Linked DNA regions of Homo sapiens: all the other regions are linked to region 1. The links are contacts of gene promoters, found by promoter capture Hi-C in blood cells and fetal thymus (Javierre and others, 2016). All regions are on one chromosome and are shown on one strand. Each heading gives the region's core, a stretch centred on a gene start or on the middle of the fragment in contact. The rest is flanking DNA. Distances are from core to core; before and after follow the strand shown. Region 1 holds the start of HELQ (helicase, POLQ like). Region 2 holds the start of WDFY3-AS2 (WDFY3 antisense RNA 2). Region 3 overlaps WDFY3 (WD repeat and FYVE domain containing 3). Region 4 overlaps LOC105377308 (a long non-coding RNA gene). Region 5 overlaps CDS1 (CDP-diacylglycerol synthase 1). Region 6 overlaps HNRNPD (heterogeneous nuclear ribonucleoprotein D). Region 7 holds the start of NKX6-1 (NK6 homeobox 1).

Evidence for each region. The method cuts DNA at HindIII sites, captures the fragments that hold promoters and counts their contacts. A CHiCAGO score of 5 or more calls a contact.
Region 2: the fragment with the promoter of WDFY3-AS2 here is called in contact with the fragment with the promoter of HELQ in region 1 in 1 of 17 cell types (M2 macrophages); the score reaches 5.8 in M2 macrophages.
Region 3: a fragment that was not itself captured here is called in contact with the fragment with the promoter of HELQ in region 1 in 1 of 17 cell types (M0 macrophages); the score reaches 5.7 in M0 macrophages.
Region 4: a fragment that was not itself captured here is called in contact with the fragment with the promoter of HELQ in region 1 in 4 of 17 cell types (fetal thymus, activated CD4 T cells, naive CD8 T cells and 1 more); the score reaches 9.1 in fetal thymus.
Region 5: a contact is called between a fragment that was not itself captured here and the fragment with the promoter of HELQ in region 1, in 1 of 17 cell types (non-activated CD4 T cells). The highest score is 6.2, in non-activated CD4 T cells.
Region 6: a contact is called between a fragment that was not itself captured here and the fragment with the promoter of HELQ in region 1, in 1 of 17 cell types (fetal thymus). The highest score is 5.4, in fetal thymus.
Region 7: the fragment with the promoter of NKX6-1 here is called in contact with the fragment with the promoter of HELQ in region 1 in 6 of 17 cell types (monocytes, fetal thymus, naive CD4 T cells and 3 more); the score reaches 12.8 in monocytes.

What each region holds. Positions count from the first base shown.
Region 1 is chr4:83,454,432-83,457,308 of GRCh38, reverse strand. HELQ (helicase, POLQ like) reads left to right here and starts at 1,486. Exons shown (of 18, transcript NM_133636.5): 1 at 1,486-1,912. The coding sequence starts at 1,616. It overlaps MRPS18C (mitochondrial ribosomal protein S18C), which reads right to left and starts at 1,251. Exons shown (of 6, transcript NM_016067.4): 1 at 1,132-1,251; 2 at 351-400. The coding sequence starts at 1,231. RefSeq lists enhancers at 1,199-1,493, 1,480-1,589, 1,930-1,979, 1,408-2,238. The HindIII fragment of the contact is 1,733 bases long and covers 1-1,679 here.
Region 2 is chr4:84,964,190-84,967,066 of GRCh38, reverse strand. It overlaps WDFY3-AS2 (WDFY3 antisense RNA 2), which reads right to left and starts at 1,451. Exons shown (of 4, transcript NR_152775.1): 1 at 1,209-1,451. WDFY3 (WD repeat and FYVE domain containing 3) reads left to right here and starts at 377. Exons shown (of 68, transcript NM_014991.6): 1 at 377-858. The HindIII fragment of the contact is 8,814 bases long and covers 1-2,877 here.
Region 3 is chr4:84,687,452-84,690,328 of GRCh38, reverse strand. WDFY3 (WD repeat and FYVE domain containing 3) reads left to right here. Exons shown (of 68, transcript NM_014991.6): 62 at 2,064-2,243. It also overlaps the pseudogene RN7SL552P. Among named protein-coding and RNA genes, the nearest start is that of CDS1, 110 kb to the right of the region's middle. The HindIII fragment of the contact is 2,923 bases long and covers 1-2,823 here.
Region 4 is chr4:82,282,118-82,284,994 of GRCh38, reverse strand. The region is part of intron 1 of LOC105377308 (a long non-coding RNA gene); the gene reads left to right. It also overlaps the pseudogene VAMP9P. Among named protein-coding and RNA genes, the nearest start is that of HNRNPD, 90 kb to the left of the region's middle. RefSeq lists a silencer at 13-172. The HindIII fragment of the contact is 2,033 bases long and covers 497-2,529 here.
Region 5 is chr4:84,584,281-84,587,157 of GRCh38, reverse strand. All of the region lies in intron 1 of CDS1 (CDP-diacylglycerol synthase 1), which reads right to left. Among named protein-coding and RNA genes, the nearest start is that of CDS1, 2.6 kb to the right of the region's middle. The HindIII fragment of the contact is 1,551 bases long and covers 571-2,121 here.
Region 6 is chr4:82,354,516-82,357,392 of GRCh38, reverse strand. It overlaps HNRNPD (heterogeneous nuclear ribonucleoprotein D), which reads left to right. Exons shown (of 9, transcript NM_031370.3): 5 at 1-80; 6 at 498-597; 7 at 710-856; 8 at 1,992-2,089. The coding sequence ends at 2,059. Among named protein-coding and RNA genes, the nearest start is that of HNRNPD, 18 kb to the left of the region's middle. The HindIII fragment of the contact is 1,623 bases long and covers 633-2,255 here.
Region 7 is chr4:84,497,850-84,500,726 of GRCh38, reverse strand. It overlaps NKX6-1 (NK6 homeobox 1), which reads left to right and starts at 1,435. Exons shown (of 3, transcript NM_006168.3): 1 at 1,435-2,877. The coding sequence starts at 2,499. The HindIII fragment of the contact is 5,978 bases long and covers 358-2,877 here.

The DNA of each region.
Region 1 (2,877 bases), core at 237-2,736:
AAATTCCCATATCATTTGCTTACAAAGGGCTATGTAAAAAAAAAAAAAACAATTCCCAAATCACATATCCTTAAATTTAAGATCTAGGAAGAAAAATATGGTATTATAGCAGCTTTGCTTCTAATCTAGGAATTCCCCTACTTCAAAACTCAGCTGACTACATGACTACAATCAATTCATCATCATTTCTGAACTCAGAGTAATTATCAAATTGTTTTGTCCTACGGCAGAACTCTATTCAAGTAGCTAAAATAAAAGATGTTAGAGTCTAATACCAGATCTCGTTTTAAAAAGAAAAACATTTTGGTCATATTTGCAAAGGCCTTACTAATAGAAAAAAAAATTCTTACCAGGTCCTCATTGCTGGATACCTGTTGTGAACAACCTCTTCTCCAAAGCACTGCGATTAAACAGAAACAGCAATTAACCATTTCTTTTTCTTAGCTGAATAGCTAAAGATTTTTGTTTTTATGGAGACAGGATGAATTAAGGGACACGATATTAAAGAAAGGTTTTGTATTATATTCAGAATGGTTAAAAACTTTTATATTTGGGACAGAGTAAGACTCAACATGGGTGTGCTTTCCAGGGCTTAGGGGGAAAAGAACATATTTTCCCGCCCATACCTGCTCTTTCTGACATTTATTTTCCCTTCATTCCATGGTTAGAGAAAATTCTTAATGCAAATTCTTATAGGAGAAGCAACAGAAAGGCACTGTCATACCAAAAAGAAAGTAACAGACCCGTCCCAGAAAGAATTTATAGAGAAGCACAGAGAAGATAAAATTGCAAAAATTATGCAATTTTGTTCTGTTTGGGGACCTTAGACATCTGGAATTTGCTGCTGGGCGACTCTGGAAATGTCCCTTCCTCACTAAGATTATCCAGAGATCTTAGGAAAGTCTCTGCTTTTTAAGAACCACTCCAACTTCCTCATACGTTTAAATACTTTAAAGGAGTGGATTAGACGACACTAAAACAGTCAAAGGCAATTACAGATTCCCACCCATCTTGGAGAAACTTAATCGCCTAGAAACCAGAGTCGTTTTGCTAACAGGGACGACTCTAACCATTAGGACTAAGGTTAATGCCTGCAGCGCTACAATGGAGCATAGGATATGGAGACTTTACCCGTGTGAGTCCCGGGATGTGTAAGGCTGACAGCAGCCGTTACCAAGTGTGTCAACTTCTTCCTCCCTAGACCACCGCAAACAGCAACCACAGCGGCCATGGTTCCGCGTTTCTTCCACTTCCTTTCGTTCCAAATCGTTCCGAAAGGCCCCTTCCGCTGCTCTTCCCCTGTGGGCTCGAGTACCCCGTTCAAAGGTTCCGCAGGAGAACGCTGAGGACCCGCGAGAGTAGGTGAGGTTTTTCAATACGCATGCGCAGCACCTTTCTGTTCGTGCCCTCCCTACGCGGCAGGTCACGTGAGGCTTATGATTGGACAGGGTAGAAGTTTATGCGTGCTTCCGGTCCGCGAGCCCTGAGAGCTAACTTGGGGTCTTTTCCCAAGGTGGATGTAGAAGCGGGCTCCGGCGTCCCACTCTCCCTTCCATATGGGCTTAGCGTCTGGGTCACTGAGAACGACGTCTGAATAGGGCCCTGGGTCCTTGCCATGGATGAATGTGGTTCCCGCATCCGCCGGCGGGTGTCTCTCCCCAAAAGGAACCGTCCAAGCTTGGGGTGTATTTTTGGCGCTCCCACCGCGGCCGAGCTCGTGCCCGGAGATGAGGGGAAAGAGGAGGAGGAAATGGTGGCTGAGAACAGGAGGCGGAAAACCGCGGGCGTACTGCCGGTTGAGGTACAGCCCCTTCTACTCTCAGATTCCCCGGAATGTCTCGTCCTTGGAGGTGGTGATACAAACCCGGACCTCCTACGTCACATGCCCACTGACAGAGGGGTGGGAGACCAGGTACGGAGGACTTGGAACTTGAAACTGCAAACTTTTGGCATCCTTCCCAGATGCAAAGAGTTGACCAGTTTTATCGCCTTCGTTTACTTCTCTCGTCTTCGTTACCACTGTTAATCGGCACTTAGGAGGTATTGATTGCCTTGTTATTTACATTTCTATATAAATATGAAATGTAAACCCCGAGACATAAAAGTTGTGCACGCAGCAGTTAAGTGGCATGACTGAGACACAAATCTAGGCTTCCAGATAACTGCAGCTCCTACTGTACAAATAAAATCTGCTGTTTATTGAAGACCCGTTATGTTAAGCTAGTTATATTATCTAGATTTTACGACAGTAATCAGGCCCTGAAAAGTTGAGATAGTACAGTTCTTGCTCCAAATCCTGTTGTCTTAATCACTTTACTATATTGCTGCCTCCAGGTTTGTGTGTCTTCTGTGTAGCAGACCACTCCAAGTCAGTATTCAGTTTCTCAGTCTCAATTCCAAATTCCTAGGAACTCCTTGGAGTGTCTAGTGGTACAACCATGTTTCTGTTAGAGGCCAGTCACTGTAGATTGTAGTCTGGGAGGGAAGCGCTGCAGTTATCAGAAACTTCGAATGCGCTGACATTTCAGTAGACGTCTACCAGTCTTCCTGCTGTTTTAGTACAGCTTTAAGAATTACAATCTGGCCGTGTGCAGTGGCTCATGCCTATAATCCCAGTGCTTTAGGAGGCAGAGATGGGAGGATCACTTAAGCCCAGAAGTTCGCGTTCAAAACCAGCCTAGGCAACAGAGACCCAGTCTCTACAAAAAAAAAAAAAAATTTTTTTTTCTTAATTAGCCGGGTGTGGTGGCCTGCACCTGTAGTCCTAGCTACTTGGGAGGCTGAGGCAGGAGGATCGCTTGAGCCCAGGATGTCAAGACTGCAGTGAGCTGTGATCGTGCAGTGGCTGGAGCCACTGTGCTCCAGCCTGGGTGACAG
Region 2 (2,877 bases), core at 202-2,701, 1.5 Mb before region 1:
GGAACCCAGTTGTCCTTTCTCAGCTGAGTCCTTTCAGAAACTGGGACTGAGGAGGGTGAGCGCCGCGGAGAGGGGCAGGGGTGGGAGAGGAGAGAGGGGCGCGGGGCGGGGAAGAGGCGCGTCTGGAAGGCAGTGGGGAGAGGGACTGAGAGGAGTGGGGTTGAAGTCCAGCTGGGAGCATCCAGCGGCGCTGTCTGCAGACAGGGGCGAAGGCAGCCGCTGAGAGTGAGGCAAGAGCGGGAAGCCGAGGGAAGGGAAGGAAGTAAGGAAAGAGGAAGGAAAGGCAGGAGGGGGTAGAAGCTGAGCGGCTGCAATTTCTGCGGCCGGCTCAGTAGGAGGAGCAGGAGGGGAAAGAGGAGGATCCAGTCAGTCAGTCAGACAGCCAGCGGGAGGTGGAGAAAGCAGGAGGAGGAGGAGGATTAAAGATGGCCACCAACAGCTGCGGGAAACGGCAACAACCCCTCACTTTCCGGGATGGTCCCTGCGGGTCGGCCCGGCCTTGATGGAGAGAAGAAACCCGAGGAGCGCCGAGGCTGAGGCGGCGGCGGCGGGGACCCAGCGAGGACGAGGACGCGGCGGAGCAGGGACGGGGGCAGGAGAAGGGAAAGGCGGCGGCGTCGCTGCCCCTGCTGCCTAGCACCGCTGCCTGGCCCGGCGGACCGGTTCCCATACCTCGCGGCCGCAGAATCGAGCTCGGGCCCCGGCCCCCGGCCCGCGGCGCGGGGCTCCCGGGCCCCGCCGCGGACGTCGCGCCGGTCGCCCCTTCCCCGTAGCCCGTGCGCCCTCGGCGCGGAGCCCCGGCCCGCCGCGGTCCCGTCTCCTGGGCCTGTCCCGCCCGCGCCCTCCGCCGGCCCTCAGGTGAGTACCCCCGCCATCCTCCCCGCCCCCCGCGCTCCCGGAGAGGCGGTGCTGCCTCGGCCCGGCGCGCCTGGCCGCTTTGTTCGTGCGGGGCGGAGGCGCTGCCCACTCGCGGCCCTGCGCCCGCTCCCCCTAGGGACAGGCCGCGGCCCAGCTGCTGTCCTCCCCAGGGTCCGCCTTGGCCGGGAGCCGCCGCCGCCGCCAGGGTGGGCGGCCTGGCCCTAGTCCTCCGCTGCCTCCTGGGGAGGGCGCCGTCGCGGACGGGTCGGGGTCGGGGTCACGGGCGGCGAGCGGAGCGGAGCGGAACCGGGATATTTCGGGGGATAGGGGAGGAGAGGGCTGGACGTTACCTGTGGGAAGCAGTGGGGGCGTAGGCGGCCCTGGCTCGCAGGGGTAGGGGATCAGGCCCTGGCCCCCCCCCGCTGCATCCTGCGGGGTCTCAGCTCCCGGAGCCACCCGGACCTGAGCGCAGCCGAGCGCGGCCTCCATCCCTCGGGCGCTGTCTCCAGGGCTTCGGGCCTCTCCCCCTACGCCCTACGCTGGAAGCCCTTCGATTATGGAAGGAGCCAGAGATGCTCCAGTTCTCTTGTACTGGGGATGTGGTGGCATCGCAAACATTCACAGTTACGGCGGGATTTAAGAAGCAGATGAGACCTTTCCAACCAAAGGCCATCTGGCTAGTGTTTGAGCCTCAGGTGCAGTTTTTCATTGATTTTTACCATTTAATTGTGAGATCTGCAATATCAGGTCTTCCTTTCACAGAAACAATGTGATACAACCAGATTGAAAGGATATTTACTGCATATGTGAACCCTTGCATGGACTTCCAGTACCTTAAAAATGGTTAAGTGTTTTCTGTTGGAAAATGGTGCTCATGCATACGAAAAACTATTTTTGTTCAGTAATGGTTGCCAACTGGTTTACTATGTAGTTTGAACACCAAACAATTAAAAAGGAAAAACAAAACCCTATTCTTCGGGCTTTTTAAATAGTGGCATATTTCCAGGTTGGTATTTGGTAGCAGGTTGAGAACAACTGGTTTCGACTATCAGGCGACGTAACAAACATAACATAAAACAGAACTAAAAATGTGCTAATTTATAGAAAAACATGTTGTATTAGTGCATAAGTCTAGTAAAAAAATCCGACTTTAAAAAAAATAAAACTTTATCATGAGACTCTTAAGTATAGGAATTAGGTTGGTATGTTTTTATGTTTAAAAATATATATTGCATTAGAATTGAGAACTCTTCCTATGATATTTGAGCAATAGTAAAGTATGTTAATACTTTGAACCATTCTATCTCAAGCTGCTAGAAAGAGGTTTCTACTGCTAGTTTCTTTCCATGAGTTAAAATGGATTCATCTGAAATATATGTATGCTTTTGGTGGGTCACAGTGGGTCATGCCTGTCATTCCAGCACTTTGGGAGGCCAAGGCTGGGGGATCACTTGAGGCCAGGAGTTAGAGACCAGCCTGGGCAACAAAGAGAAAACAATTTTTGTAAAGAAAAAAAAAAATGTTTCAAAAAATTTGTATCACCTCCAAAAAGGAGGGATAAGTTAGAAAATACAATGTTCTACTCTTGCATAATCTGTTTTTGAAAAAGTAAATGACAGTATATTTCAATATTAGTTGGATTCTCTGCTTTGAAGAGATTCTTAAATTCCACTGCTCAACTTTGCAATTTTAAAAGTTTACATCAGTTGTTCTTAATTTATTTATTTATTTCTTTTTTTAGAGACAGGGTCTTGCCCTGTTGCCCAGGCTGGGGTGTAGTGGCACGATCACGGTTCACTGCAGCCTTGAACTTCTGGGCCCGAGTGATCCTTCTCCCACAGCCTCCCAAGAAGTTAGGACTACATGTGCATGCCACCATGCCTGTCTAATTTTTCTATTTTTTGTAGAGATGAGGGTCTCCCTGTGTTGCTCAGGCTGATCTTGAACTCCTGGCCTCAAGTGATCCTCCTGCCTTAGCCTCTCTAAGTGCTGGGATTACAGATGTGAGCCACCATGCCC
Region 3 (2,877 bases), core at 113-2,612, 1.2 Mb before region 1:
GTTTCTAACAATGATCTAAGCCGGTCCCTTTGTTAAAATCTGAAGAAAGTTATCTTTAGGTAACATATATTTCAGTGTATTTAAGTAATATAAATGCAAAAGTCTAAATTGAATTTTTGCAAACTGAATTATGTTTGCTATTGACTCATATTAATTTCCTTCCAGGGTGATTTCCATTTATCTGCCACTAAATTCTTTATTTTTTGTTTCTCTCTTTTCTCATTTGTCATATACTTAAGGATATGCCAAACTCATGAATATATTCAGTAGAGCCCTTGATGATTTAATTAACGAGTATTTCTGATTGTCTATTACATACATGATTCTATTATTAATTTTTACTTAAAGCAAGAGTCCTTTTATAATTAAGCCATTTCTTAATATTTGATCTGTGAGAGAACTTACCATAAGGTATTTTTTAAATAAGGAGCATATATCTAAGTATTTTTAATGATATAAATTTGAAAAATAATGTAACAATACCACTTATCAATTATTGAGCACCTCTATTTCAGGGGACTGTGTTGAGTATTCTACAAATACAAAACTCTAGTCGACACAATTCTACAAGGTAGTTATTAGCCCCATTTTACCCCTGAAAAAGACACAGGTTAGAGTGGTCAAGACACAAGTCTAAAGTCACATGTAGCAGTAAAGCTATAATTTAAATTAAGTTCTGTCTGACTTCAAAGCTATTATAAAGCCAAACTCAAACAGTGGTGTCATAAATACCTATAGAAAAAAATTGAACCCCTGTTCAGTATAAAACTGAATCATCTGTATAGGCCAGAAACTTCACAGAGTTGCTGGGTCCTGAGGCAAGCCATATAAAGAGGGAGAAAGTCTTGAAGTGAACAGATTACAAGGTTAATAGTACATTTTGCTGATTCAAATTATGCTTAAAAATATTTTCCATTTAGAAAATGCACTTTGAAAGTAATGTGCCAGGAAAAAGGACTTCCTGCTTAAAATAGTTTCCTGGGGTTTGCTAAGCATGCAATAAAGATGTCTATATGACCAAAATTTTAAGCCAACTCTTTTTTTATATTATGCACACACACACATATATATACTTCATGTGTATACACAGATAGTTTTCTCTCTCAAAAGTATTAAAAAATTTATCAACCTTCAATCTGTAAAAAATACCTACTCTACATGATAGCAAAATCTCTCCTCCAAGTTTACACTGATTTACACCCAAGGCTTTCCCCAAATGTACAATAGGAGGCAACCTCTTACATTCTAGTGTGGAAGGCGGCAGATGAAGCCAACTCATTATTAAGCGGATATATTTTTCTGCCAGGGCAGATGGCCCATTCTAAGTACTTAGGAACTACTAACAGTAATCTAAATCTTTTTCTTCAGAATATTTACTTATTTTCACACATTGCCATTTCCTTGGGTCCTTTTTCTCTTCATATTCCAGCAAAAGAGGGAAGTTCTTTTTCTAGTTTAAAGAAAGAATTCCTCTCAGGCACAGATACTCAGATATCTCCGATTGGCAGCAGGACTTCAGCATGTTGACGCCTCAGGACTACATTCTCGCTTTGTCTATTGTAGACCACGTGCTACAGCCATGTGGTTCTCGCAGTTTATGCATTTTTTTAAAAAAAAATTCATTCAATTGTAATTCTTTAGAATGGTCTGAACAGGAGTTTGTGGCATAAAAGAATGGATATAGAGTTGAAATTCTGTATTTTTGATGCCCATAATCAATACATCTCTACATAAAAATGGTATAAAGAAACCCAAGCTGGGTTGTGGTTGTCATTCCCTCTTCCTTCTAAGATCCTGGCCCAACTCCAGGAAAGAACTAATGTGAAAGTAAAGAGCCTCCAGAGTGCTCCAGGCTTCTCTCTACCCCCGTGGGCTGAGGCAAGGGTAGTCAGCAGGAGGAGAAAGGAGGTCTGCCTTCCAGACTCTCCAGACACCACTGCTCAAGTCACCTACTACCTAGCATGCGTGCCACTGCTTCCTGATGCATCCAGGAGCTTCTGGAGTCACTGTGGAACCCTGTCACTGAGATCAACCTGATTTTGTTTGTTTGTTCTCATTCGTAGGCCTTACTGGGCCACACTGATACCGTCACCTGCGCCACAGCATCATTAGCCTATCACATAATTGTCAGTGGGTCCCGTGATCGAACCTGTATCATTTGGGATTTGAACAAACTGTCATTTCTAACCCAGCTTCGAGGGCATCGAGCTCCAGTTTCTGCTCTTTGTATCAATGAATTAACAGTAAGTAGTAAATTGCCCACTTATGTTTAGGTAAACAAGTAGTCTTGGCCAAACTCAATTAAAAATGGTGGGGCTCAGGGGAACATGTCTGAGTTGCAGCTGCTCAGGAGGCTACCGCAGGAGGATTAGTTGAGCCCAGGACTTCTGGGCTGTAGGCACTATACCCATCAGGTGTCTGCACTAAGGTCAGCACCGATTTGGTGACCTCCTGAAAGTCAGAGACCACCAAGTTGCCTAAGGAGGGGTGAACCAACTCAGGTTGGAAATGGAGCAGATCAAAATTCCCATGCTGATCAGTGGTGGGCTGTGCCTGTGATAGCCATTGCACTCCAGCCTGGGAAACAGCAAAACACTGTCTCTTAAAAAAATAAATAAATTTTTCTTCTAAAAAAATGACTCATTGTTTTTGAAGTTGATAGATACTCATTTTATAAAAGTTACTACCTTTTCTTTGATTTAGTGTTGTTTGAAAAGCAAATAGATGTTAAAGTTTGTAATCCAGAGAGCAGTTTTGTCTTAAAATCCATTCACTGCTCCATGCAGTAGAGAGAACAAAATTTGATTAAAATAAAACAAAGCTTTCTAGAATATGTTTTTTTAAAAAACAGGAAATTTGTAGGATTTGTTAAGAATG
Region 4 (2,877 bases), core at 264-2,763, 1.2 Mb after region 1:
GGGCGGTGACCGGGGCGGGGCTTCGGGAGAGGGCGGTGCGTGCGCAGGCGCGAAGAGGGACTGATTGGCAGGGAGAGAGGCGGGGCCGTCTCCAGCCCTAGCGGCGCGTTTGACGGGACACGGGCGGGGTCTCTGGAGAAACCTGCTTTGGGTGGCAGCCTTTCTCCTTAAAATCATTTGTCGAGCGCCAGTGTACTTCATAGTGTTTACCTCCTTATGATTTATTCACAATCTAGAGCATGTGAAATGTAGACCTTGATTTTAAAGAAAATTAATTCATTAATCCAGGCATTTATTGAACTCCGGCTGTGCGCTAAATGCCTTAGATTCCTGGGTATGCAAGTAGGTCGGCCCCGACCTTGAAGTTGAGGAGTTCATATTCTAGTAGTGGTTACAGAGGCACAGGCGGAGAAACGCCAGTCTCAAGTGGTATGCGTGTGCTATCAGGGAAAGATGAACAAAGCTGCAGAAGATGGGATGGAGAGCTAGCAAAGCTTTAAAAGTCCTTGACTTAGAGGATGGGTTGGCGTTCTCTAAGTGGGGAGGAAAGAAAGATAGGAGAGTCTAGGCAGAGGGAATAGCTTCTGTAAAGGCTTGAAAGAAGGCAGGTGGGTTTGGGGGATGAGTGTGGCAGAGAAAAGGTGTATGAGAGAGTAGGTAGGAGGGCAGAGTGGAAGGAGTGGTAGCATGACTTTTGTTGTCTTAGACCTTGGGTGCCTTGACAATAATTTTTTAAAAGTGTGACCTTATATATTTTCATCACCAAGGTATTGTGGTAGAGTGGAAAGAGTTTGCCTTTGAAGTCAGACAAACTTAGATTCATATATGGGCATTGCCCATGTACTCCATGAGTTTATGTAACTTAATCTTTCTGAGAGTCAGTTTCCTAGTTCATAAAATGGGGGTAATTGTCAAGTTTAAATGAAATAATTATGCAAAAATATTAGCATACAGTAGTTATGCAATTGCAGTAATTTGTGATAAGTACATATTACTTTCTTGCTCCCAATGGTGTAATCTTTTTTTTTTTTTGAGACAGGGTCTAGAGTGCAGTGGCATGATCACGGCTCACTGCAACCTCCACCTTCTGGGTTGAAACGATCCTTCCACCTCAGCCTCCTGAGTAGCTGGGACCACAGGTGTGTGCCACCACGCCTGACTAATTTTTGTATTTTTAGTAGAGACGGGGTTTCACCATGTTGGCCAAACTGGTCTTGAACTCTTGACCTCAAGTGGTCCACTCTCCTTGGTCTCCTAAAGTGCTGGGATTACAGGTGTGTCACTGCGCCTGAACCCAATGGTGTAACCTTAAAGAATGACAATCAGTATCCTTCTGGGTGTCTGGGTGAAGGCAGGTAGTCAATTCCATTTCCTTTAACACAGGGTAATCAAATTGGATTTGACAAGGAAGGAGCGAAACTGGTCTGCACTATAGCTCCTGAGAAAAATGCCTTGTTGAATCATGTATCCTATATACAGGAAATCTCGAATCAGTGTGTCTTATCAGCTTGATAAGTGTGTCTGTGTTACAGGCAGGGTGACTGATTAAAACCACTGGTCACATTACTTATACCTGGGAAGAGGAAATTTGTTAACTCTGGGGTAATGCTTTTGCTTACCCCAGGGTCTTGCTTACAGTAAAAACAAACCGAATAAACCTCACCACAAATCTATCTTTTTTGAGCCCCTTCTCCCTGGTGAGCTTTCAGCACAGCAGTCATTCTAAGCCTTTAATCCTCCCCTCCAATTGCATACTGTCCCTTGTGCTTTCTTTCCTTCCTGTATGTTTTCTGTATGCTGTATTATGCCTGATAGCCAAGGCTTACTCTAGTCAATGCCAGGTTTCCTCACTTAACTCAGGATTTCTCCCTTTCCTTCTTTCCCCATGGGGTGGCATCTCTGAGTGTGGGAAACTTGGTGGAGGGAAAGAGCTTCCAATTAGTGACCTTCGTCCCTCTAAGGTGGAATCTGCAGCTAATGTTTGTTTTCTGTCTGTCTCTGATCACCAGTCACACACTCTACTTGGAACCCCAAGGCCCCTTTAGGTGCTCTGTTTCTCTTTCAGTCACTTTTTTGGTCCTCTTGGAGGCGAAGAAAAATTCCCACTGCTCCCACATGTCATTGTGAGGCTGCGGGTGGCTCCAGAGGCTGTGTCACAATATGCCCTCCTGTCGCACTCTCCTGTTGTGCTGTGTCACTGCTATCATGTGGGGAGCAGCTTTTAGACCTTACTTCATTTGGGAAGCAAGCTCTTGGATCCCCAATTTACTAGGAGTCTTCTCATCACCACACTATGTCACCCCTCACTTCCTAGAGAGGGCTCTAGCTAGTTGGAGTGCTTCCTTCTCATTCTGTCCTTCTCTGACATGTGGACATTCCAGCAAGTCTAGGTAGGGCAACTCTGACCACCCTGGGCGTTTTCCCAGTTGATGCCATGAACGTTGATTGTCTGAAACCTTTTTTTCCCCATATACTCTGTTTTCAGAGAGTTCCCAAAATCTATTTTGAAACTTTTTAGAATGAGAAGCTTTTCTGTCTTACTCTCTTCTTCCTCCATCTCTCCTTCCTCCTCCTCCATTTTTTTCATTCTCCATTTTTGTGCCAAAGAGAATAACTGAGAATGAAAACCACGGCAGGTAATATAAAATATCACAGACATTTCCACCTTTCCCTTGATAGTTTGATACAATCTTGAGGATGCAGCAGAAAGAGTGGTGAGAAGCTAGGATCCTGGGAAGGTGAAATGGGACATTTCACTGTTGTTAATTTCTTTCACAACATGCTTTTAGACTCATCAGTACTTTGACTGGTGAATACTACTATCATTGCTTTTTATTTTATTTATTTTTGAGACAGAGTCTTACTCCGTTGCCCAGG
Region 5 (2,877 bases), core at 97-2,596, 1.1 Mb before region 1:
TTGGTTCTGAGTTCCTACTTTACTAACTGAAGGCATCCAACATTTGATCTTCTCCTTTCTGCTTTTCAAAATGTTCCTGTATCCACTCTTCATTCCGTCTTTCTTTTCTTAAGGAAAAGACATGCATCCCTCTTTTCTTTCCTTGGATATCCCAATAATCCATAGTCTCTACCCCATGTTTGCTTTCTTTTTCCTAGGGCCTACCCATTGTCTTCAACATCTTTACTCATTTGACTTTCATACAAATATATATCTCCCCTCCTCTGAAAAGAAAAATCTTCATTAATCCTCCTGTCTCTCTAGTTGCCATCCTGTATTCCTTTCACTGCCACTTTATAACAATAACTACCAACATTTCACCTCTCAATTTCCTCAACCTAAACTTGCTTCTACTTAGATCTTTTGCTAAACTCCACGTTCTATCTCAGCCCTTATTCCTAAGTACTACTGATGATGTCCTCTAAGCCAGGGGTCCCCAACCCCCAGGCCACAGACCAGTACCGGCCTGTTAGGAACTGGGCCTGTTGGGAACCCGGCTGCAGAGCAGGTGAGTGGTCTGCGAGTGAAGCTTCCTCTGTATTTACAGCCACACCCCATCACTCGCATTACCACCGAGCGCTGCCTCCTGTCAGATCAACAGCAGCATTAGATCCTCACAGGAGCTTGAACCCTGTTGTGAACTGCACATGCGAGGGATCTAGGCTGCATGTTCCTTATGAGAATCTAAGGCCTGATGATCTGTCACTGTCTCCCATCACCCCCAGGTGGGACTGTATAGTTGCAGGATAACAAGCTCAGGGCTCCCATGGATTTTATATTATGGTGAGTTGTATAATTATTTCATTATATATTACAATGTAATAATAATAGAAATAAAGTGCACAATAAATGTAATGTACCTGAATCATCCTGAAACCATCCCCCCAACCCATCCGTGGAAAAAAGTGTCTTCCACAAAACTGATCCCTGGTGCCAAAAAATTTGGGGACCACTGCTCTAAGCAATGCCTCCTCCTTTTGCTCTCAGGACCTTCATTATCTCTTCCTCTGTATCTGCAACCCTGTGCCTAGAATGCTGATTCAAGAAAAAACCCAACACGTCCTTTGCCTAGAACACCCTACCCAAACCCTTGTAAACCTGGTGAGTCCCAGGAATCTTTTCATTCCCAGCTCAATCCTCATCCACTGTTTAGAGCTTTTCCTACAGTCTCCAGGTAGACGCCAAGCATGCCCTCTATGCTAACAATGAGCCTTGTACAGACTTCCAATAAATCTAACTCATATATGTCTCCTGCAGGGTTCCTTGAAGATGTCCCTTGTCATTTTTCAAGTACCACTCCAACATTTAACACTTGGGAACATTCCTCTGCAGGTAAGAAGTATTTTTTTCACTTGCTAATTATCTGGAGTACAGAGCCTTCTCTCAGCATAAGTCACCAGTCCGGAACAAAGGGAGTGTCATGTTAATAACACCATTATTAAAAGACTACAAAATGGCAATGCATGGGAGTGTATTATAATAGCAGAATATAATGTACCTCCTTCACTTCTTTCACTAATTCCCCAAGAGTTTTGCCTTTACTGCAACTGAACAGGGAAGGCCCTTAATGAGTTTGAATTGACCAAATATTAACCAGCCTCCAGTGTGCAAACTGATTTTAAAATAGCCCTTGACCTGGAAATACAGGTGTATTCAAATACACACCCTGATAAGAAAGGACAGACAGGGATAGAGTTCAATATCTATCAGCTTGCCAAGTCAAAAGTTCCTCATGATAAACTCTAAAAGTAGAGCAGTATTTTAGATATGGTTTGAATATGTTCATCCTTGTCTAAGAAATCTTGACAAAACAGGTTACATATAGCAAAGTCTACTTTCAGAAAACAAAATCCAGCTGGACATGTGTCAATAAAAACCAACAGTACTGCATTGATAAATAAATAAATATGCAGCGAGGTAACCTAGTCACAGATAGCTAGAGACAACAGTTCTAATGAGTCAAATCACACTACAGAAGTAGTTTCCATTTTAAATACATTATGGTGTTAAAAAAAGAAAAAACTTAATTCCGAAGGTATTTTATGCATGGCTTCCTGAACATCTTTTCTCTTAACAAAAGCTTGTTAGCTTTGTCGAGTTAAGGAAGTCAGCATAGAGAAGCTGGTATTTCCTTGATGCTAAACTATACCAGTGCTAAAAACAAAACAAAACAAATCCCAACCTAATTAATTCTATTTTGGGTCTAGTTTCCAAGGCAGTTTTCACAAAGACTATTCTCAGCCCACTGTTCCTAGTTTTGTAACTTCAACCTTCAGTAGCTGGAAATTGTTATATTTTGGGTAATTCCTTGACACTTATGTTTTATTACAGACTCATTTTATTCTACTTACTATCAAGGGTAAGGGGAAAAGTGTCACTACATTGATTCCATTGATTCTAAAGTTTTAGTACTAAGAATCACGTTTACGTTTATTTCGTGATATCATGTGATATGTTCCTATTAGGGCTTTGTAATTTGGGTTACATCAAACTCATCAACATCAACTTTCAGGTGGAATCCTCCCCAAATCAGAACTGCCAGCCAGTCTCAGCAACCACATAAACCAGAAGAAAAGGAATCAGGAAACTTAGATTCTAGTTTCAAGAGCCACGAACTTGACCTTGGGCAATCCACCTCACTTCTGTAATTCAAACTGCAATGCCTGCTTCCAAAGTATGCTTCTAGAAACAGTTTACGTGTTTTGGGTTTCTCAAATAAAATGGAATTTTCTAAACAGACGGTTTGATACAACAATCTATTCTCTGGTCCAATTTCCCAAACCATCCAGTCCATAAGATCATAAAACTGCATTTCTTCACAAGTTCTTACTTGCACCA
Region 6 (2,877 bases), core at 195-2,694, 1.1 Mb after region 1:
TCTGCTTTATTACCTTTAAGGAAGAAGAACCAGTGAAGAAGATAATGGAAAAGAAATACCACAATGTTGGTCTTAGTAAAGTAAGTTAAGCATCCATTTACTTGTAGAGAAAACTAGCTGTTGTAAAGAGCTTAACCATTTATCTTTCTCTGTAAAGGCTTAAGTTCTTTGCATGCTTTAAAAACTTCTCATTGGTTACTTACCATTGACCAACTTTTTGTGGGGAGCAGGATGGACACATTTGTTAGTGTTTTTGTCTAGGCTTTCACAAAAATAGTTTTTAGAACTTGACAAGTAAAATGAAGTAACATCACTAGCAAGTACTCATAAGTGATTACTCTTAAGTACTAAATATTGGTTTAATTAATAAACTGACTGAGGAAAGTTTCAAATTAGCCTACTCTATTTAAACATGTTGGCTATTCTGGTTATTAGAAACTTATTTAGCAACTTTTATTTTCTTGAGTCAGTTTAATAATGTAATTTTTCTCTTTTAGTGTGAAATAAAAGTAGCCATGTCGAAGGAACAATATCAGCAACAGCAACAGTGGGGATCTAGAGGAGGATTTGCAGGAAGAGCTCGTGGAAGAGGTGGTGGTAAGCTAGAGCCTAAGTTTACTCTATCTTAAGCTTTTCTGCTTTTTAATTATCCTGAAGTAAAGATCTTTGCTGATCTTCTGACTTTAGTGAACCTATTAATGTGCTGCAGGCCCCAGTCAAAACTGGAACCAGGGATATAGTAACTATTGGAATCAAGGCTATGGCAACTATGGATATAACAGCCAAGGTTACGGTGGTTATGGAGGATATGACTACACTGGTTACAACAACTACTATGGATATGGTGATTATAGCAGTAAGTACTATACTTTTTATATTAACTGCTATTTGACATTTATTTTGTACAAATTTGGATAGGCAGAAAGGTTAGTGTAGCCTTGCCAAGTGCAAATGTCTTCAGGTTTCAAATTCCTGGAAACTTGAAACTGCAGCCATTTTATTGCTTGGTTCCTCCCAGCCTATATCACACACACATTATAAGGGTAGGGTGTATGTGTGGTTCTATATATGTTTGCTGGGCATTTGTTTTACTTGGATTTAAAAATTTTAAGCTCAGTTCAGATCTTTTAAGCTCAAGGTATTCTAAATGTCACTTCTTGGACCAACCAATAATCTTGGCATGATGTGTCTTAATCCTATAAAACTGAATAATACCACATGTTGCCAGTTAAAACTAATAGTATCCTCGCTTTAGGATTATTAATGTAGAAACTCTTAAAACAGATGTTGAGCTTGATAGAACCAAAAAACTTGACTTTTAGACATGGAAAGCCCTGACTTCATTGTGCAACTAAGGTAGTTGCTCTCCACCTGATTTGTAGCAACTGTTGAGTCGTCAGGTAAAGGGTTCTACTAGAAGCAATCTTACATTTTTTTGGAGGAGAGTGGTTGCATTGGTTGCATTGTTTTAAGTGGTTTTTCTTTTCCTTCCTTGGTTAGACCAGTTCTTGGAGTTATATCCTTTCTTAGGTGACTAGGCCTGCTGCACAATAATAGGTTAATTAAAGTCAGAAGAAGGTCAGCAAAGATGGATTGGGTGAGATTGGGGCCCTTTTCTTAGAAGGGCAGAGATACTAAGCACTGATTGTGGTTGACAATTTGTTCTAAATTTTAAGATATTTTTTGCTGGTGGTTGTGAAAGGGTCAGCTGTCCATCCTTTGAAACTTAAAACTTTTAAACTGTAAGGGTGAGGGGATTGTCTCCCATTTTATACAATAAGTCAAGTAATCAGCTCATTCTGAATGCCTGCCATTGTATGCATTCACTACATATTTGGTAAATTATTTGATAAATGATTGCTCAGGGTGAATTTTTCACACTTGGGAATTAAGCTACCCTTAATTTTTTGAGATTGTTTAAAATTAGGTACTGTTCTGATTATTAGTATGTAACCACTACCGTTCTGGTTCTAACACTTGTTTTATTTTAGACCAGCAGAGTGGTTATGGGAAGGTATCCAGGCGAGGTGGTCATCAAAATAGCTACAAACCATACTAAATTATTCCATTTGCAACTTATCCCCAACAGGTATGTTCTAAAAATAGTTTTTTTTTGTCATTTACAATAGTAGTTTTTATAATCTATATTGTTCATAAAACAATGCTTAATTTAAGAGTTTCACAGCACCCAGAAGTGCTTACCATATTATAACATAGTGACTTTCAAAGATATGTAACACAGGTGCTCTTAAGCTTTTGCCTTTTTGTCCTATTATTAACAAGTCAGTAAAGTTAACAGGTAAAGTACTGCTAATGGGTACAAATTAAGGAATTGCAGCAAAAAAGTATTGCCTACTAACTCTGACATTATACCTTGTTTGTACCCGCCAGCGGGAACTTCATTGCAGGCCCTGTGTCGCGCTGACTTCACGATTCTCACAGGCCCGCTCAATGCGGACAGGGTACGAGATGCTCACGCTCTCGAATGCTGCCGTTTGGTATGGTCTCTTCCAACATCCTGTATCAGCATTATAAAATAAAATGGATACTTCAAGCTTTGCCTTCACTTATTTCTTTGCTTTTTAAAAACTATTTGTAATGTAATTTTAATGCATTTTTTACAGGCCCAGTAATGGTTAAATACGTCAGCTTACTGAATAATTTTAACTATTTATTCTTCTAAGGATACAGCTTGTCTCTGGATTTTCCAGTCTTAATTTTATATTTTATTAATCTATTTTAATGCTTGCTTTTCCCATTTATAGACGTTGTAGCAGTAATTGCAAGAAGTTCTTGAGCTGAATTCCTGTTGTGACAACTTCCTATAATTACAGTAGATAACTTTTTCTTTTAGTCGTATATAACTTTTCTATAACT
Region 7 (2,877 bases), core at 186-2,685, 1.0 Mb before region 1:
ATTCTTGAGCCATTTATTGCGTTTATTTCTGTTTTCTGCTCATTAAAATTGTAATTAATGATCTCATCCAAATTTGCTGTAGCGACCACCTTCCAATGGTGTGTTACTTTAACATGCTGAATTCTCAAAATTGTCAAAGGGTTTTCCTTCTCCAGCCCGCAGTTCAACCCTGTCGGGAACGTAAAGATCAGCCAGAGATGGAAGAGATTTAGAGAGTAAAGGAAGCCACCCTTCAACTCCTAAACTCTAGATAGACATCCCACCACCACTGTCCAGGAGCTGGTACATCTCCATCTCCCGTAGCAACTCTAGAATTGGGAGTAGGCGCCAGAGTTTTGGAGAGGGTTTTCAAAAGCTTACAGTTCCCAGGGTGTACCTAGATGCTTCTGTATCTAAAGTTTCCGCCTGAATTTTGATGATTCTACCCCCATGTAAACCCAAAGGAAATAACAACAATAATCAAAGGGAGAAAAGTTAAGGGAAAAAACTCCCTCACTGTTCTCAGGTATAAACATCATCTGACAGATAAATATTCCTATTAAACGGATTCAGTTTTCAGCGAATTGAGTAACCCATAAATGATAATGAACGCGGTGGGAAGCGACGGGCGGGGGGGAACTCGGGAATGAAAAAAAAAATAAAGTGGAGGAGAAAGAACAGAAAAGGAAAGCAGGAGGTGGAAAGATGGAAGAGGACGATCCTTTGGCCTACAAGGGGATTAAGGACATCTATAAGGCTTAAGGAGCAACAAATTAATTTACACAATTCTGGGAGAGCCCAGATGGCCTTTAATTAATCCCTTCAAAAGAAGGAGCCAGGCCAGGGCTGCGCCGGCTGCCTGCTCCATTAGCTCCATTTTACAAGGGACCAGACTTGGTTCGAGGTGAGGCGCCCTCCAGAGCTGGTGGGGGAAGGGGATAGGATGACGCGAGCGGGCTAGTGGGGAAGCAAGGGAAGAATATGAACTGCTTTTCCATAAAAGGGCTGAGTTTTCATTATTCCTCTCTTTAAAAAGTAATACCCTCTTCGTCTCTGCTTCCCCCTCCCCTTTCTCATTTTATTTAGCACAATTAATTGAGGCGGCCACTGGCCCCAGCGCGGAACCGCACCACTCACCAGCTCCCGCCCCTCCTGGCCCCGCCCACAGGAGAAAGAAGTAGGGAGCGGGAGGGGACTAGGCGGGCGCGGCCCTACGCCTGGCCCGCCTCAGCCAATCAGAGGGTGCGGCGCCCCCGAGTGGGCGAGCCCCAGGGGCGACGCAAGGATCGAGGCGGCGAGCTATTGGACACGGTGGTTACGCCCCCGGCCTGCGCCCGGCTCGCCGGCCCCCGCAGCCTCGGAGTGACGTCCCTCAAAGTTCTCATTTTGGTCCCCCACTTCCCCCTCCCTTTCGTCCCCCAGCTAAAGAGGGGTAGGGAGTGATGCAAATGTTTTATTACCTTTGAGAGCTTCATCTGAACTGTCAGGCCCGGAGGGAGAGAGGAAAGGAGAGAAAGAGCGGAGGAGCCGCGGAGAGGGTCAGTTTGGCCAGAGGACAGGACTTAGAAGACCGAAGCCTGGGAAGCCGCGAAGAAAATGCCAGAGAGGAGAGTCAAAGGCTGAGAGTGAGAGGGAGAGAGGGAGCGGGGGTGGGGCGGGGGTCGCCGGGCCCGTTTGCAGAAGTGGACTGACGAGCGGCGCCGAAACCCAGCCGTCAGACTTTTCACACTTAGTCTTTTGTTTTTCTGTGTTTTTCCTCCCCCTTTTTCTTTTCAATATTGCAACTCCAGTGCCCCGTGGGCCAGAGGGCAAGGCGGGTGGAGGTGAGGACCTGGGAGCCGCGGGGATCCGTGGCACTGCCCTTTCTGGCGCAGCAGCCCGGGGCAGCGTGGGCGGAGGAAGCCCGCACAGAGGCTAGATCTCCCGCGGGCTGGATGCGCTTTCTCCCCGGGCACAGTGAGCGTCGAATGCGAATCAGCCGCGCGACCGAAAGAGCAGAGCATCCCAGTAAGATCAGAGGAGCGCCACGGGCTGCACAAGGCGTCCTTTGAACCTCCCCAAAGAAAGCAAGCCACCCCCACCCTCCAACTTCAAAGTGGAGATTCGGCAACTAACTTTGCTACAAACTCTCCGGAGCCAGCCTGGGTTTTGTTTTGCTTATTTCCCGGGGGCAGAAGATGAGAAGTAGCGCACTTTGAACAGCTAGGAAAAGTGAGGAAGAGAGAATAGCCAGGGATCGAATCTAGGACTCGCGGAACGAAAGGACTGCCTAGCCCGCCGGGACGCCTGCTTTTCTCGGCGAGCTGCCGCCTCCCGCGTGGAGGGTTTGGACATCTCTGCTGCGCAGCTAGGCGAGCAACTCCCGGCAGCGGCATTTTTGGTTCAGTTGGCAGCTCGCCTCCGGGCGCGCCGAGTGCCTCTCCGCTCGCGCCCTCGGCGCTTCCGGCTCCTCTGAGCCCCGCGGGGGGCACCAGCCAGCGCCCTCGCTGCAAGGCTACGGTCTCCGGCGTGGCCGTGGGATGTTAGCGGTGGGGGCAATGGAGGGCACCCGGCAGAGCGCATTCCTGCTCAGCAGCCCTCCCCTGGCCGCCCTGCACAGCATGGCCGAGATGAAGACCCCGCTGTACCCTGCCGCGTATCCCCCGCTGCCTGCCGGCCCCCCCTCCTCCTCGTCCTCGTCGTCGTCCTCCTCGTCGCCCTCCCCGCCTCTGGGCACCCACAACCCAGGCGGCCTGAAGCCCCCGGCCACGGGGGGGCTCTCATCCCTCGGCAGCCCCCCGCAGCAGCTCTCGGCCGCCACCCCACACGGCATCAACGATATCCTGAGCCGGCCCTCCATGCCCGTGGCCTCGGGGGCCGCCCTGCCCTCCGCCTCGCCCTCCGGTTCCTCCTCCTCCT